Regions from separate parts of the Homo sapiens genome. Here region 1 is linked to region 2. The links are contacts of gene promoters, found by promoter capture Hi-C in human tissues and cell types (Jung and others, 2019). All regions are on one chromosome and are shown on one strand. The core of a region is centred on a gene start or on the middle of the fragment in contact, and the rest is flanking DNA. Distances in the headings are between cores, read along the strand shown. Region 1 overlaps LINC02384 (long intergenic non-protein coding RNA 2384). Region 2 holds the start of RAP1B (RAP1B, member of RAS oncogene family).

The links. Contacts are between HindIII fragments. The study calls those that stand out against the background at their distance.
Region 1: a fragment that was not itself captured here is called in contact with the fragment with the promoter of RAP1B in region 2 in 1 of the 25 tissues and cell types used here (H1 embryonic stem cells).

The regions. Positions count from the first base shown.
Region 1 is chr12:68,436,940-68,439,639 of GRCh38, forward strand. All of the region lies in intron 2 of LINC02384 (long intergenic non-protein coding RNA 2384), which reads right to left. Among named protein-coding and RNA genes, the nearest start is that of LINC02384, 13 kb to the right of the region's middle. The HindIII fragment of the contact is 5,738 bases long and covers 1-2,700 here.
Region 2 is chr12:68,609,570-68,612,269 of GRCh38, forward strand. It overlaps RAP1B (RAP1B, member of RAS oncogene family), which reads left to right and starts at 1,330. Exons shown (of 8, transcript NM_001010942.3): 1 at 1,330-1,474. RefSeq lists a silencer at 1,187-1,646. The HindIII fragment of the contact is 12,288 bases long and covers 1-2,700 here.

The DNA.
Region 1 (2,700 bases), core at 152-2,651, 170 kb before region 2:
AGAAGTAGAAATATTGCCTCTGGTCATGCTAAAATTAATTGCAATATTTAAGTCATGTGACATTTAATGTTTCTAGAACTAGCAGGTAGCATAGCTCCCAGAAACCCAATTGCACATTGCCGAACGTGTCTCAAGGCACTTTCAGGTGGATCGGATAATGGGTGGAACCACCACATACTTTTCAACCATGAACAATGATTCAGGGGCCAGGATTTAGAAACCATGGGCAGCTATGTAATTGCATAGTGTTAGAAACAAGAGAGGTGAGTGGTGTGGAATATAGGTTTAAAAGAAAAGGAAGGTTCTGAGTGTATACTCAAAATAATTGAAAGCAGGGTCTCAAGGAGATATTTGTATACCCGTGTTCATAGCAGCACTATTCACAACAGCGAAAAGGTGGAAGCAGCCCAAGTGTCAATTGACAAATGAATGGAAAAGCAAATGTGATATATATGTACAATGAAATATTACTCACCCTTAAAAAGGAAGGAGATTTTGACATGATACATGCTACAACATGGATGAAACTGGAGGACATTAAGCTAACTGAAATAAGCAAATCACAAAAAGATACTGTATGATTCCACTGATGTGAGGTACCTGGAATAGTCAAATTCATAGAGACAGAAAGTAGAATAGTGGTAGCCAAGAGCTGGACAGTTATCGTTAATGAGCACAGAGTTTCAGTTGGGAAAAATGAAAAATTTCTGGAGGGGGATGACAGCAATGGGTAACAGCAATGTAAATGTAATTAATGCCACAGAACTGCACACTTAAAAATGATTACAATGGTAAATGTTATGAGTATTTTACCACAATAAAAAAAAATTTTTAAGGAAAAAAAAAAGAAAAAGAACTTGAATGTAACATCCCCACTTCACAAACTTAGCACCCCCGTCTTCCACTACCACCACAACCACCACCCACAAAGTCCTCTAAAAGTCTGCTTATTAAGGGGAAAAGAAGGAATCAAAATTGGGAAAGAGCCTTCCAAACTCTTCCAAGATCTGAGCAGCTTCTTTTAGTCATTCTGTTCTCTTTTTTATTTTTCACAATAAATATGGAGTGCTTTTTGTTTTTTGTTTTTTAGACAGAGTCTTGCTGTGTTGCCCAGGCTGGACTGCAGTGGCACGATCTTGGCTCACTGCAGCCTCCACTTCCCAGGTGCAAGTGATTCTCCTGCCCTAGCCTCCCAAGTAGCTGGGATTACAGGCGTACCATCAGATCCAGCCAATTTTTGTATTTTTAGTAAATATGGGGTTTCACCATGTTTGTCAGGCTGGTCTCGAACTCCTGGCCTCAGGCAATCTGCCTGCCTTGGCCTCCCAAAATGCTGGGATTACAGACATGAGCCACTGCACCTGGCCAATAAATATGTATTATATTTGTAATCAGGGGGAGGACAAGGAAAGAATATTATGGCAAAGGAAGAAGTGGCATAAATTCGTCTTCATCTCTGGCCTGAGGTCAAGGCAATTCTTCCCTCAGCCTCACGAGGCTTGAGTTTTTGCTCAGAAGCATGAAATATCATTACCTTTACCTTTCATAGCCCCAGTTTAGGATAAACTCTGGGTCAGCAGTTACATGACTGACCTGAAATGATTTCACTCTGCGGCTGGCAGCGCCAGACTCAGGAGTGACAAACTGAAGTAAATGACTGTGTGAGCAGCTTCTGGTGAGACCAAATAGAAGAACTGCAGCAGATAACTTACTCTTTTTCATTGTTTCTGATTAGATCTTTTCACATTTTGCTTTTGTTTTTGTTTTTTTCTTGGAAAAGACAAGGGTGTCTCATGGAGGCTTTAGGGAAATGGCTGAATTTTAAGGAAATCGAATTGGCTCCCATGATTATCTCAAAGGAGCTGTGGTCGTAAAAGTTAATTAAATTAGATTCATTTGCATATTCAAGACCATTCCCTTCCTTCACTTTAAAGGCAGAGAAAGAAAATGTGTCCCAGCCTCCTCACTGGGATTATGACACACAACATGTCCAGATCACTCTGTTTGTATGCTGGAACTTAGTCGGACTAGCAGGCTATTTTTTAAATCCTTTTTCCTAGCTTGTATTCTCCACATTTTAAGGTAAGTGTCAATACAAACGTTAAATTAGTATGCATTGCAGTTCTTGCTTTGAAATATAGAATAAATCCTTTAGAGAAAGAGATTGCCGTGCTTAAAGACTGAGGTAATTTTCTAAACAAAAGGTGAATTCAGAACACTAAGTAGAAGATGAACTAGCAACATTTACAGCCACAAGACTGTGTAGAAGCATTTTGCATTTGTGTATGTATTGGCAACAACGGCATCTATAGCTTTATTTATTATGGGTCAGAGGAACGGAACGATTGGACCCTAAGAGGATGTCTAGTCTACCCTGCTGCCTGGAGTAGGCCTAAAATAACCGGCTAAAATGGAACTCTGGCCTGTTTTCTGAAGCCGCTAGGGAAGGTGTTTCCACAACCTTCCTCTGTTATGTGACCCATTTTTAACAATCTTTAATATCATACCAGAAAACATTGCCTTATATCCAACCTATATCCCCTCTGCTATTGATTTACTGTTTACTCTCACATGCATACAATGCAAATGTGAGCAGTCGCACTCAGCCCCTCCACCCTGCTCATTTGCATATTTCTTTGGAGTATCAACTAATGCCTACAGATTAAAGGGAGTGTCTACCCTACTTCCTTCAGCCACACA
Region 2 (2,700 bases), core at 80-2,579:
AAAAAAAAGGTAACTCTGTGAGGTAATGTAACAATGTATACATTACTTCAAACGATCATGTTGTATACACAATAAATGCAGACAATAAACAATTTTTAAAAAGATATTTTTCTAAGGAAATAGAAATTATCGAAATAGGTAATCTACTCAATTAACCTAAATTGTAAAACATTATAAAACACAGAGAACTGTTATAATTCATTCTCATCTATTCATTTAACTTAGGTTAGCTTAGTTTTCAATCACTACATATTCTTAAACGGAGTGAAATTAGTCACATTCCATTTATCTTCCAAATTTATCAACGTTTATTAAGATTTATTTCAAGAATAATTTGTACAGGGCCTAATTAAATTATGAACCAAGAAAGTTAGTCTTAAATGACCCCTCAATCCCTTTTCCCTGCACTTTGCTCTCTTAATCTCCTCGCCCATCAAAACTGCTTCAAGAAAAAGTTCTGATAAATTTCTTGTACTAAGGGTAAGTAAGAATGGTAAATTCCCGTGTTAAGTTCCCGCCCTTTTTGGAACGAGGCATTTTGGAACAGAAAGTGTTTTCTGGTGCCCTGAAGTCACACGATAAACCTACTTGCCTATGGGTAATCCTGTGAAGTGAATAAAGCGTCCAGGACATGCATTTAAATACGCAATTTATTTTAGTTATATAAATGGCGTTGGTTTAGGTGCAGGGTACAAACTTATTTAGAAATCATCGATTTGTTAACTGCGTTTGGCATGGGAATTTGGAAAGAGTTCGCCCGGGTTAAGACACCAATGGATAAAACACTTGTCAATCCAGGAGAAAAGGCATCTCAAGAATGGAAAGACTTGCTGGCCCAGGCTCCCTCGGGGAGCTCTAGGTGTAGAAAATGCGCGCTCTCCGTTACTTCTCGGTTACTTTGCCCAGCACAAAGGACGACGCGAATACCAACAGACTGGACGAGTCGGTGACTACAGTTTGCATTAAGAGGCGGCGCCTTTTGGGTTTCGGAGGGTTCCACTGGAACCCACGAGGGTCAGGAACACCGACGCGCGGATTCCGCCCACCAGACAGCCTGGGGAAGCGAGCCTGAAGGCGCGGCGCAGCTAGAGAGAAGAACCTCGGCAGACATGCCGCCCAGAGGCAGCTAAGGGGCCCGTGGGCAGGGCCTGCGCTCCGGCTGCGATGCAGGCCGGCTAGAGGCCGGCGCCGAGGACCCGGCGCGCGGCGGCCCCGCCCCCTCGGCTCCCCTCGCCCCGCCCCCTAGGCCCGCCCCTTCCCGGGCCGCGCACCCGCGCGCCCCGCCCGCGGGCGGAAGCTGGAGCGAGGCTGAACGCCTGACGTCAAGGCGACATCGCCAAACCTCGCCCAGATTCAGGCGTGTAAACCAGCCGGAGCGGCGCGGCAGCGGCAGGACCGCCGTGGCGCCTAGAGTAGCGACCCGGGGGGAGCGCGGGGCGACGCTGGCTGCAGGGACCCGGTGACAGCGTGAGAGGTTCGCAGAGTGAGTGCGTGGCCGCTGAGGGAAGCCGCGGCGGCGGCCGCGCGGGGCCGGGCGCCGGCTGAGGGGAGCGGGTGGGGTGCGGCGAGGCGCGGGCCGGGCGCGGCGGTCAGGGGCCCCGGCGGCGGCAGCCCCTCGGCGCGCGGCAGGTGGCGCGAGGGCCAGGCGCCGGGCCCGCGAGCGCGCTGCCTTGCGGGCCGGCGAGGAGGAGCAGCCGCCGCCGCCGCGGGAGAACAGCGCGCTTTGCGGAAGGGGTCAAATGTCTGAAATATGGCGGAGGAAGTGAGAGCCCGAGGACCCCCCCACCCGCCCGCTCTCTTCAGCCCGCGTCCGCCGCAGCTTCTCCCGCCGCCCTCCTTTCCCCGCCGGCTCCCCCGAAGACTCGCTCCCCGCCCCGAGCCCCCTCGCTTGTCGCCTGGGTTCCCTCCGTGGTATGGGTGGAAGTTAGAACGGAAACCAGAAAGTTGTCCTTTGCGAAGACCTAGCTTCTCCCAGCCCCGAGCTAGGGCGAGGAGCCTTCGGGGGAAACCACTCCCAGGCGCCCCGCGGGCTTGAGCCTGACAGCGAAAAAGTTTGCCTGAAACGGGGCTTGCTTGCTCCATTTGTTGCGGGAAGTGGCAGGAGGAAGGCAGCGGAGAGAGCCCCACTTAGTCTGGCAGCAGCCACCGTGTAGAGAAAAACTGTTAAAGGGGCCTTTCCCTTCGTCAGCAAGAGGAAATCTCTTTCTCTTAGAGGGAGAGAAAATCCAGGAAGTTTGTCCTCTTCTCTTTTTCGCCATCTCGAGGTGTCTAATCCTAAAACTATCAGCGCCATGAATTTTATTTAAAACTACGCCCAGTGAACCGGGCTCTCCGGATTTTTCTTCTGAAAAACACTGATGTCTTTTGGAGAAAAGATCATTTTTGCAAGTTAAAGCAGATGGTTTCCTTCCCCTTCGCTTTCCCCCCTCTCCCACTCTCTTTAATAGTTTAGAAAAACATTTTGGCCCTGTAACTTCTGATTGGTATGAATAGAAGCAGTTCTGTGTTGCAGTAAGGGGAAATCACATTTTTACGGGGTAGAAAGTTGACACTAAATGAAGATTGTGATTTTAGTATTTTAAAATTAATTCCGTCTAATTGGATTTTGGTTTTGCAGGCAGCATCTCATATATGTCGAGTACTTAACAATTTAAAGCTCTGACTTGTAAATTTATTTTTCAGCTCTCTTTTTTCGTAATT